Linked DNA regions of Homo sapiens: region 1 is linked to region 2. The links are contacts of gene promoters, found by promoter capture Hi-C in human tissues and cell types (Jung and others, 2019). All regions are on one chromosome and are shown on one strand. The core of a region is centred on a gene start or on the middle of the fragment in contact, and the rest is flanking DNA. Distances in the headings are between cores, read along the strand shown. Region 1 overlaps SLC43A2 (solute carrier family 43 member 2). Region 2 holds the start of PRPF8 (pre-mRNA processing factor 8).

Region 1 (6,216 bases), core at 1,542-4,041, 61 kb after region 2:
AGGGGAAGAGAAGAAAGGAACGTTTATGGAAATGATGCTAGGGTTGTTCTCTCCTCTTTGCCTTGTCACTGGAATTGCTGAAGGCAGGCTGAGGATGCTTCTCTACATGACATCTGCACCACCCAACACACACTTACCTTCACACCTTCATACCCTGTTGGAGGGTCCTGATGACTACAGGGCAGTAAATTCAGCCCCACAGGAGGGCCACAGCAGCCCCCAGCCTCTAGCCTCCTACCCTCCTTCTTAGGCAACCTTGACAGGAAATTTTCCCTCTGCCTTCTCCTTGATCCCAACGGTAGCTGCATAATAGCTGAGCTCACATAATCCCTGTCGCCAGTGCTAGAGTGCCCTTAGATGGAGGTAGCCCAGGTTTGACTTCCTGAATCCCCAGCAGCAGGCCTTTTCTTTCTAGAGCTCTTTGCAGGAAGAGAAAGCTTTGGACCAGCTCATGCTGGGTGTAATCCTTTGTGGAAGCCTCCCTGTTTCCCTTCTCTGATCTGCCCCGGAGATTCCTGTGTGTCCCAGTCTCTAGGGAGGGAGGCTTAGCTGGAGAGGTTCAGGGCAGGAGAAAGCAGGAGAATGCAGAGGCCGCGGGGAGAGGACAGAAAGTATATCATTTATAACTAACCTTTAGCCTTTAGCCACTCAAAAATATTTCCTAATAGCCTAAGGGTTCTTGGCAGGTCTTTCCCCACATCAGCAAGAAATCTTGGGAGTTGGGAAGAGTCAGACCTTGTTCCCTGAACAAGCTTTCTGCTTTGGCCAAGAGTTGTTAGGAGATTAATGCCTGTCCCCGAAAGGCACAGGTTGGAGTGTTTACTTCTTCCTCTCCTTTCCTCTCTCCCCCCTTAGAGATCGTGACCCTTCCTGCTTGCCTCCCTGGTGGGCTCTTTCAGGCTGGACACAGGGTTTAAAAAAAAAAAAAAAAAGCAGAAAAAAAGTCATCGTCCCCAGAGAAAGCTTTTAGTGTCTCACCCAGACCAGAGAACTGTTGTGGGCAGGTGTTTTTTTGTGTGTTTTTTTTTTAACCCACCATGATGTCGGAAGGTCAGATTCTAGGTGTTTTTTGTTTGTTTTTTGTTTTTTGTTTTTTTTTAATAGAATGTCCACGGATTTAATTGATTGTATGGTTTTGGCAGAATTGGGTCTGGTCCTTTCATTCCTGCCTCAACCTCAGCTTCCTCCTCTGTCTAAGTGGGAGGAGTCCCAGAGATTGTGCCAGCGCAGTGCTGAGTTGGTGTTTTAAGCCCTGGGCAGACTTGACAGGTAACTCCACTAAACCAAAGTGAAGGTGAAGGGTCAGGATTGTGGGTTGAACATCAACTTCTTATCCCGAACTTTTGCTCCTGCCTCCAATTTTGGTTTTTCTTATTATCTGGCAAACATGCTGAGCCCACGTTCTGGGCGGGAAGGCTGCTGATTCCACACAGCTTATCTCTCTGGTCACACTGCTCCTTGATTCTTGGAGTCTGCATCACCAGTTTTCTTTCAGGCCAGAAATCCCCGCATTTGGCTCGTCTGGGAGTGCCTGGCGAAGTTAGGGTGAAGGTTTCTGCTTCAGTCTAACATTTTCAAACTTGGTGCATGGCTGAATTGCAGAGAAGCAGATAGGCCATTTTTGAATTTATTGAATTAGACTTGTGAAAGCCTGAGCAGTGTCCGGCTGATTGAGATGCAAATTTGTCAGCTTCGTGTCACTCTAGGACGATGCTTTAGTTTGTTCTCTAAAGAAAATTTGCCTGAACCTGTTGAAAGGTTCTTAGAACTCTTTCTTACGACTCCAGCCAGAATCTCGCCACAGACACCGTGTTGGGTTCCAGCCTGGTGAGGTGGCAGAAGGAAGGAAACAGCTCATTTCTCGGCTGCCCCGCAGTTTGTTCTTCCTTGCCTGCTGGGAGACGTGGCAGGCTGGGTTTGGGGACCTGGGTGCGGGAAGTTGGCAATGGGTTTTGCACAACGTCCTCCAGGTGTTGGCTGCTGGATGCCTCCCTCGTCCCCCTGGTGAGGGCAGGAGACCAGTTGGGTTCTCAGCCCGAGAAGCACGGGGCTTCCTGGAGCTGTGTCCTCTTGGCCTCTGGGATGGCAACGTGACGGCCCACTCCTGAGCTCTTTCTTCGTTTTCTCTGTTGTCCAGTGGCCCCCGCTTCAACAGGGTCAGGGTCAGCCTGGGGGGCTGCGGCTACCTGTGGATGGTTTTTTTTTATTTGAGACAGGGTCTCGCTCTGTTGCCCAGTCTGGAATGTAGTGTTGCAATCACAGCTCACTGCGGCCTTGACTCCTGGGCTCAAGCAATCCTCCCGCCTCAGCCTCCCGAGTAGCAGTAGCTGGGACTACAAGTGTGCGCCACCATACTCAGCTAATTTTTGTATTTTTTGTAGAGACAGGGTCTCGCCATGTTGCCTAGGCTGGTCTCAAACTCCTGGGCTCAAGCGATCCTCCTGCCTCAGCCTTCCAAAGTGCTGGGCCTGCAAGCATGAGCCATCAAACCCAGTTAGTTTTTTGTTTTTGTTTTTGGGATTACAGGTGCCCACCACCACGCCCGGCTAATTTTTGTATTTTTTAGTAGAGATGTGGTTTTACCATGTTGGCCTGGCTGGTCTCGAACTCCTGACCTCAGGTGATCCACCCGCCTTGGCCTCCCAAAGCACTGGGATTACAGGTGTGAGCCACCACGCCCGGTCAAATTTTTTGTAGAGATGAGGGTTTCATCACGTTGCTCAGGCTGGTCTCAAAACTCCTGGGCTCAAGTGATCCACCAGCCTCAGCCTCCCAAAGTGCTGGGACTACAGGTGTAAGCCACCATACCCAGTTAATTTTTAAATGTTTTGTAGAGATAGGGGTTTCACCATGTTGCCCAGGCTGGTCTTGAACTCCTGGGCTCAGTCGATCCACCCACCTCGGGCTCCCACATTGCTGGGATTATAGGCGTGAGCCACCGCTCCAGGCCTACATGTGGATCGTTAATCCCCTCTTTCTTGTAACCTAAACATTCAGTAAACATTGACGAAGGTGCCGTGCTGGGTGCAGAGGAAACAAGTCATCACACGCATACCTGTGTAACCCGTATAATTCCAGGGGGTGGTCGGGCCCCCAAGAAAGCAGGGCGCCAGGAGCTAGAACAGCAGCGGAGATGTGGCTCCTGCTGGGTGGGAGGGCCTCTCTGCGGTTCAGGTGGAAGCCTGGAGGTTGAGGAGGGGTGATTCAGGAGAGGAGGGTACACCCTGGAGGAGAGGAGGGTACACCCTGGAGGAGAGGAGGGTACAGCCTGGAGGAGAGGAGGGTACACCCTGGAGGAGAGGAGGGTACAGCCTGGAGGAGAGGAGGGTACAGCCTGGAGGAGAGGAGGGTACAGCCTGGAGGAGAGGAGGGTACAGCCTGGAGGAGAGGAGGGTACAGCCTGGAGGAGAGGAGGATACGCCCTGGAGGAGAGGAGGGTACGCCCTGGAGGAGAGGAGGGTACAGCCTGGAGGAGAGGAGGGTACACCCTGGAGGAGAGGAGAGAAGTGGGAAGGGGCGGGGGCTGCAGGGACTGGGAGGCCATTCGGGGAAACTGAATTTTATTCCCAAGACAGGAGGAAGCCAGGGAGATAGAGGAGGGCGACCATCCAATTCCCCTGTTAGAGGCTTGTGTGAATTGCTGAGGGCTTGCCACATGCTGGTATGTTTGGGTGGCATAGAAACCAGAAGTCATCACGGCCTCTGCCTGAGGAAGTCACCCACAGTCTGACCATGGGCATGAAGGCCGACCCCAGTTGTATGCTCTTGACCTCTGCAGTTTCTCCACCTGTGGTGGTGGGAGAGAGCCTCTCACCCTGGCACAGAGGTCCCTGCGAGCTCGCCCTGGCACAGAGATCGCTGCAAGGGCAGAGGGGCTGCCGCCCACCTTGGGGAAGCAGGCCCAGGCTTGATCCCCACGGGCTGAGTGAAGCTGCAGATGTGGACAGGAGATTTCTCTGCTGCCTCGAGGACCTCTTTTCTTGGGGGATGGGGAGGAGGGAACGGAGTTTCACTCTTGTCGCCCAGGCTGGAGTGCAGTGGCGCAGTCTCGGCTCACTGTAACCTCTGCCTCTCGGGTTAAAGCGATTTTCCTGCCTCAGCCTCCCAAGTAGCTGGGATTACAGGCGCCTGCCACCATACCCGGCTAATTTTTTGTATTTGTATTTGTATTTTATTTTATTTTATTTTTTTGAGATGGAGTTTCACTCTGTCGCCCAGGCTGGAGTACAATGGCATGATCTCAGCTCACCGCAAACTCCATCTCCCGGGTTAAAGTGATTCTCCTGCCTCAGCCTCCCAAATAGCTGGGATTACAGGTGCCCACCACCACACCCGGCTAATTTTTGTATTTTTAGTAGAGACAGGGTTTCACCATGTTGGCCAGGCTGGTCTCAAACTCCTGACCTCAGGTGATCTACCAGCCTTGGCCTCCCAAAGTGCTGGGATTACAGGCGTGAGCCACTGCGCCCAGCTCAAGGGCCTCTCTTTTTAGAGTCTCTCCTCACACCCACAGGCAAGTGTGGATAGTTTTTTTTTTTTTGAGACAGAGTCTTGCTCTGTCGCCCAGGCTGGAGTGCAGTGGCGCGATCTCGGCTCACCGCAACCTCCGCCTCCCGGGTTCACGCCATTCTCCTGCCTCAGCCTCCCCAGTAGCTGGGACTGCAGGCGCCCGCCACCACGCCTGGCTAAATTTTTTTGTATTTTTAGTAGAGACGGGGTTTCACCGTGTTAGCCACGATGGTCTTGATCTCCTGACCTCGTGATCCACCCGCCTCGGCCTCCCACAATGCTGGGATTACAGGCGTGAGCCACCGCGCCCAGCCGGATAGCTTTCTTAAATCCAGCCTTTCACTTTTATTGCTATAAATATGACTTTTAAACTTTTCCCCCAGTTTATTTGGAATTTTAAAAATTCCATAGCAATGGGTAAGAAGGTTTAAAGGCTGGGGCCGGCAGCCTCAGGATGCGTCTCAGAGAAGAGCTGGTGGCCTTGGCTCTTCCCACCGCCCCAGCCTCCCTCCTTCTTGGTTCGTGACCTCATTTCCCTCACAGACATCCACTGGCCACCCCTGGCTTCTGGTGTCCATGAAGGTCCTGTCCAGCTTAGGCTGGCTCTCAGGGACCTCGTGGGAGAGTCTTAGTCCCATTCCCACCAAGCGATATTCAGGGCCTCCTGGTGTTGCCGGCACATGGGCAGCCTTTTCCCGGCTCTGTTCTCTCAGCATTTTCTCTCTGGGATATGAGCCTCTAGCCCAGGTAGGCCAGCATCGGCACAGACCGAGTGGTAAGAGCGGGAGCTTTGGGGTCTGACAGCCTGGAGTCAAGCCCAGCTTCCCCAGGGACCCCCATGAGACCTTCTGCAAGTGACTTACCTGCTCTGAGCATCCCTCGGGGACACTCTGACAGTATCCTCGTGGGGAATATGGGGTGGGCGTGGGCACACCCGTTGAGCATGGCAGCTGGCACACACTTTCATTGCACACACGGCAGCCGCTGCTGGGACCACTGCTCAGGGGCCAGGCCCTGGTCAGCCCAGGACGGCCTCTGCCTGTCCGTGCCCTCCTGCCTGTTGTTTGCTCTGTGTCTGAGCCGACCTCTCACCTACATCTCCCCTGCCGGACTGAGGACTGAGATGCTGCTTCCTGTTGCCGGATAGACTAAGGATTTGAGAGACGGGAGATCCTGGGCAGGGGCCATCGGTGGGCTGTCCAGGGGCCCGCACCCTGGAGGGGGGGCTCGGAAAGCGACTAGTCAGGGAAGGGGGCAGCTCAGGAATTTAGAGGGGACCTCAAGCCAGGTACTTCTTGGCCCCCTCAAGCATCATCTTGGAGGCCCCCCTCCCTTTGTCTCCCCGGGGTGTGGGGAGGCTCCTCTTTGCCTCAGGGGAGCCTGGGGGGCCACAGCACCCTCTTTTCTCCCTGATTCCTCTGTAAAGATCTTGTGCGTCTTCTGTGAGTGGGGCTGAACGGTGTACGTCCTCCCTGGCCCTGGGTCTCCTCCTAAGCAGCCCTGTTCCTGTTCTTGGCACTCACTGGCCACACCAACTCTTGCCTGTCTTCTCAGTTCACCTTCTCTGGCCAGGCTGGGCTGGGCCACTTCTGGCCACCCCAGAGGAGGCATCTGTTTAATAAACAGGTGCAGGTGAGGAGCAGAGCAGCCTGGCCGGGGGTGAGCAGAGCAGGCTGGCCCGGGGTCAAGCTCCAGGCTGGGAGCAGA
Region 2 (5,797 bases), core at 2,768-5,267:
CTGTGCTCTCTGAAACGTGTGCTGTGTCCACTCAGGGTTGAATGGATTAAGGGCGGTGCAAGATGTGCTTTGTTAAACAGATGCTTGAAGGCAGCATGCTCGTTAAGAGTCATCACCACTCCCTAATCTCAGGTACCCAGGGACACAGACGCTGCGGAAGGCCGCAGGGTCCTCTGCCTAGGAAAACCAGAGACCTTTGTTCACTTGTTTATCTGCTGACCTTCCCTCCACTGTTGTCCTATGACCCTGCCAAGTCCCCCTCTGTGAGAAACACCCAAGAATTATCAATAAAAAATAAATAAATAAATAAATAAATAAATAAAAAAGATTTCTTTGGGGGGTGCTGGGAATGTTCTGGAACTCAATAGTGGTAACTGCACAAGTCTGTAAATATACTAATTTTGAATCATTAAAACTAAAATTCATTAACAATCATTGAATTATACACATGAAAACAAGCGAACTTTATGGATTGCGATTTTTTTTTTTTTTTTTTTGAGGCAGAGTTTCGCTCTTGTTGCCCAGGCTGGAGTGCAATGGCGCGATCTCAGCTCACTGCAACCTCTGCCTCCAGATGCAAGCGATTCTTACATCTCAGCCTCCCAAGTAGCTGGGATTACAGGCATGCACCACCATGCCCCGCCAATTTTTGTATTTTTAGTAGAGACAGAGTTTCACCATGTTGCTTCGTCTGGTCTCGAACTCCTGACCTCAGGTGATCCGCCCGCCTCGACTTCCCAATGTGCTGGGATTACAGGCATGAGCCAGCATGGTGGCCATGGAGTGCAACTTTTATCTCAATAATGCTGTTTTGAAAATAGTACAGAGAGTTCTTGTGTACCCTTCACGTAGCTTGAGAACTTTTTATTTTATTTTATTTTTGAGCGAGAGTCTCACTCGGTCACCCAAGCTGGAGTGCAATAGCATGATCTCAGCTCACTACAACCTCCACCTCCGGGTGCAAGCGATTCTTATGCCTCAGCCTCCCAAGTAACTAGGATTACAGGCATGTGCCACCATGCCCCACTAATTTTTGTATTTTAGTAGAGACAGGTTTTCACCATGTTGGCTAGGCTGGTCTCGAATTCCTGACCTCAAATGATCCACCTGCCTCAGCCTCCCAAAGTGCTGGGATTACAGGCGTGAGCCACCACACCTGCCCCCTGCCCACCCCCCAGAACTTGTTTTTTTTTTTTTTTTTGGAGACGGAGTCTTGCTCTGTCACCCAGGCTGGAGTGCAGTGGCCCGATCTTGGCTTACTGCAACCTCTGCCTACCGGGTTCACACCATTCTCCTGCCTCAGCCTCCCGAGTAGCTGGGACTACAGGCGCCTGCCACCATGCCCGGCTAATTTTTTTGTATTTTTAGTAGAGATGGGGTTTCACCGTGTTAGCCAGGATGGTCTCGATCTCCTGACCTCGTGATCCACCCTCCTCAGCCTCCCAAAGTGCTGGGATTACAGGCGTGAACCACCGCGCCCGGCCACCCCCCAGAACTTCTTATACAACCATAGAGCGACAATCAAACCAGGAAATTGACATTGGTACAATACTCTTTTTTTCTTTTTTGAGACGGAGTCTTGCTCTTTTGCCCAGGCTGGAGTGCAGTGACTATCTCAGCTCACTACAACCTCTACCTCCTGGGTTCAAGCGATTCTCCTTCCTTAGCCTCTCAAGTAGCTCGAAGCACAGGTGCGTGCCACCATGCCCGGCTAATTTTTTTGTATTTTTAGTAGAGACAGGGTTTCACCGTGTTAGCCAGGATGGTCTCGATCTCCTGACCTTGTGATCCGCCAGCCTCGGCCTCCCAAAGTGCTGGGATTACAGGCGTGAACCACCGCGCCCGGCCACAATACTCTTAATGAAACTACAGACCATAGTAGGATTTCACCAGGGCTTAGAGCAATGTCTGGCACGTAGTGAACCTTACACAGGTGAAAGGACTTCACTACCATGACGATGATGATGATGAAGATGATAATGATGATGTTGGACTTTCTAGCACAGCCAGATTGATATGGTGCCTATTTTCAGAGCATGCCATGTTAGTTTCTATATCTAAACCTTTTTTGGCCTGGCACGGTGGCTCACGCCTGAAATCCCAGCAATTTGCGAGGCTGAGGTAGGCAGATTACTTGAGCTCAGTAGTTCGAGACCAGCCTGACAAACATGGAGAAACGCCATCTCTACGAAAAATACAAAATTAGCCGGGTGTGGTGGCACATGCCTGTAACCCCAGCTACTCAGGAGGCTGAGGCAGGAGAATCGCTTGAATCCTGGAGGCAGAGGTTGCAGTGAGCCGAGATTGTGACACTGCACTCCAGCCTGGCAACAGAGTGAGACTCTGCCTCAAAAAACAAAAAACAAACCAAAACCCCCACTTTTTTTCTATGAAACCAGCCTCGCTCTGTCACCCAGGCTGGAGTGCAGTGGTGCCATCATGATCCTCCCACCTCAGCCTCCCGAGTAGCTGGGACTACAGGCATGTACCACTATGCCTGGTTAATATTTTTATTATTTGTAGAGATGAGGGTCTCAGTATGTTGCCCAGGCTAGTCTTAAACTCATGAGTTTAACCAATCCTCTCGCCGCTGCCTCCCAACGTGCTAGGATTACAGGTATGAGTCACGGTGCCCGGCTTCTTTCTTAACTCTTTCTAGTAGTTCTACCACTTGGGATTACCTTTTTCCTTCCTCTCCATTTACCTTTATGAAATCCTCACATCCATCCATCTCCATCAAATCTTTAACAATTCTCCTCTGTCTTTTTTGACTGTAGGGACCTTTAGAACACCCAGCATTAAAAAATAGATTTCAGGCCGGGCATGGGGGCTCACGCCTGTAATCCCAGCACTTTGGGAGGGCCGAGGCAGGAGGATTTCGTAAGGTCAGGAGTTTGAGACCAGCCTGGCCAACATAGTGAAACCCTGTCTCTACTAAAAATCCAAAACTTAGCCGGCAGTAGTGGCGCGTGCCTGTAATCCAGCTACTCTGGAGACTGAGGCAGGAGAATTGCTTGATCCTGGGAGGTGGAGGTTGTGATGAATTGAGATCGCGCCATTGCACTCCAGTCTGGGCAACAGAGTGAGACCCTGTCTCAAAAAAACAAAAGGAATATTTTTTAAATTTTTACCGTTCTGAAAGCACATTGACATCCTTTGAATTTTTTTCTAATTATTTCACTTTGATTTGTAAATTCTCAACTAGATTCAGGGGCTGTATGGGTTACAATTCCTCTGCACCCTCCACAGAATTTCAGACTTTTTTTTTTCCCCCGAGACAGAGTCTCGCTCTGTCACCCAGGCTGGAGTGCAGTGGCGCGATCTTGGCTCACTGCAACCTCCCCCTCCCGGGTCAAGCGATTCTCCTGCCTCAGCCTCCCGAGTAGCTGGGACTACAGGCGCCCGCCACCACGCCCGGCTAATGTTTGTATTTTTAGTAGAGACGGGGTTTCACCATGTTGGCCAGGCTGGCCTCGAACTTCTGGCTTTAAGTGATCCGCCTGCCTCGGCCTCCCAAAGTGCTGCGATTCCAGGCGTGAGCCACCGCGCCCGGCCAAGGTCTTAATTCTTGCCTGCCTTTCTGCTCCCCTGTGAACTCTACTGGTTGTCTTTTTTCCTGCTTTATCCCTCGTCCTCGGTAGACAGTGATGGTTAAATGAATGAATGCATGAACAAATGACTGTCCAGGAGCTAGTACTGCATTGCATGTACACATTGATGACAACAGACATCGTACAATGCGCAATCTTGGCAAATTTATTCAAACCCTTTAGACTTCGCTCTCTCACAGTGCGACGCCGGGAGCCCATCACACGCTGAGGTCTGTCAGAGGCCCCAGAAACAGCCTCGGAAATGGAGGAGGCGGGGCTTCACCCCGACCACACCCCCTTGCGTTCAAAGCCTTTCCGCCTATGGGCCCGCCTCCTCGGCGCAGTGTGCAACTCTAATTGGTCGTCTCACTAATCCATCTGAGCACCTCGGCGCCGACTGGATCAACTGCTGAACTCGGGTTGCGCACTTCCCGGCGCTGGGAACGCGGAGCGGACGCAGTCTGGCCGCCATTGCGCTGCGGGGAAAGCGGCCTCTTGTGTGAGGGCCTGTGGGGTGCGTGGCAGGCGTTTAAGGCCGGGCTGCGGGAGGCGTGGTCGGGTCGGGCCGAGTGACCGAAGGGGTTAGGCCGGGCGGGGCTGGATGCACTGTGTGGCGGGACTGCAGGCCGGGGTCCCCGGACGCCTTTCTGCTGCGCTTCTTGTGGGCCCGGGCCTGTGGTTAGTGAATTTTTCTATCCCGCCGCTCCCCAGATTCTCCGGATATGGCCGGAGTGTTTCCTTATCGAGGGCCGGGTAACCCGGTGCCTGGCCCTCTAGCCCCGCTACCGGACTACATGTCGGAGGAGAAGCTGCAGGAGAAAGGTGAGGCGAGAGTGTGGAGCGGCGCGCGGGCCGGAGGCGGGGCGGGTGTGCGCGCGCGCAGGCGGGTGGGGACCCTCCCCGTTTGGGCAGCTCCTGAGGTGTCAGCTCCCTTGTTATTTCCAGTTAATTTTTCATCAAGTCATTTTAAGCGCGTATTATTTGCAAGCGCTGATCCAGCGGGGGTACAGTAGTGACGGAGACAAAATTCCTGTCCTTACGGGGTTTAAATTACAGCGGGAGAGACAGAGAATAACAAAACCTTGAAGCTCTGTAATAAAAATGTCAGGCCGGGCGCGGTGGCTCACGGTTGTAATCCCAGCACTTTGGGAGGCCCAGGCGGGCGGATCACCTGAGGTCAGGAGTTCGAGACCAGCCTGGCCAACACAGTGAAACCTCGTCTCTACGAAAAATACAAAAATGAGTCGTGTGTGGTGGCGCGTGTCTATAATCCCAGCTACTGGGGAGGCTGAGGCAGGAGAATGGCTTGAACCCAGGAGGCGGAGGTTGCAGTGAGCCGACATCGCACCATTGCACTCCAGCCTGGGAGACAGAGTGAAACAACCTCTCAAAAAAAAAAAAAAAAGTCAGATAGTGATCAATGTGATGAAAGGAAAAACAGAGTAAAATGGTAAGGGAATTGGCAAGGGGTGCTTCTTCCTGCTGGTGCCTGCTTCTCCCTCACACTCACTGACAGGAGCTTACCCTAGGGCAAGAGGTGAAGAGGATTAGGGGGAGGGTGTGCAGGCCTTTAAACTGAGGTGCCTTTCCAGCTCGAAAATGGCAGCAATTGCAGGCCAAGCGCTATGCAGAAAAGCGGAAGTTTGGGTTTGTGGATGCCCAGAAGGAAGACATGCCCCCAGAACATGTCAGGAAGATCATTCGAGACCATGGAGACATGACCAACAGGAAGTTCCGCCATGACAAAAGGGTTTACTTGGGGTAAGGAACATCCTGAAATAATTTCATTTGGAATTTGGCCCTTTTCCCTTCTCCCTGTCCCACAGTCTTGGATTGATGCTTTGACAGCTCATCTTGGTGGATATAAGAGAAAGGAGAAAACCAGTAGGAGTCTCTGATAATTTCTACATCTTCCACTTTTGCAGTCTGTTTCCCCTCTCTTCCCGATCTGGGACTGGTGCTTTAATTTGTCCTGTTGATGATATTATAAGATGTCCCTGGCCAGGCGCGGTGGCTCATGCCTGTAATCCCAGCACTTTGGGAGGCCGAGGCGGGTGGATCATGAGGTCAGGAGATCGAGACCATCCTGGCTAACACGGTGAAACCCCGTCTCTACTAAAAATACACAAAATTAGCTGGGCGTGGTGGCAGGTGTCTGTAGTCCCAGCTACTTGGGAGGCTGAGGCAGGAGAATGGCGTGAACCTGG

The links. The method cuts DNA at HindIII sites, captures the fragments that hold promoters and counts their contacts. A contact is called where the count stands out against the background at its distance.
Region 1: a contact is called between a fragment that was not itself captured here and the fragment with the promoter of PRPF8 in region 2, in 1 of the 25 tissues and cell types used here (H1 embryonic stem cells).

The regions. Positions count from the first base shown.
Region 1 is chr17:1,620,889-1,627,104 of GRCh38, reverse strand. The region is part of intron 2 of SLC43A2 (solute carrier family 43 member 2); the gene reads left to right. Among named protein-coding and RNA genes, the nearest start is that of SLC43A2, 4.8 kb to the left of the region's middle. RefSeq lists an enhancer at 1-98. The HindIII fragment of the contact is 4,391 bases long and covers 596-4,986 here.
Region 2 is chr17:1,683,087-1,688,883 of GRCh38, reverse strand. It overlaps PRPF8 (pre-mRNA processing factor 8), which reads left to right and starts at 4,017. Exons shown (of 43, transcript NM_006445.4): 1 at 4,017-4,104; 2 at 4,302-4,412; 3 at 5,183-5,351. The coding sequence starts at 4,313. The HindIII fragment of the contact is 7,907 bases long and covers 2,793-5,797 here.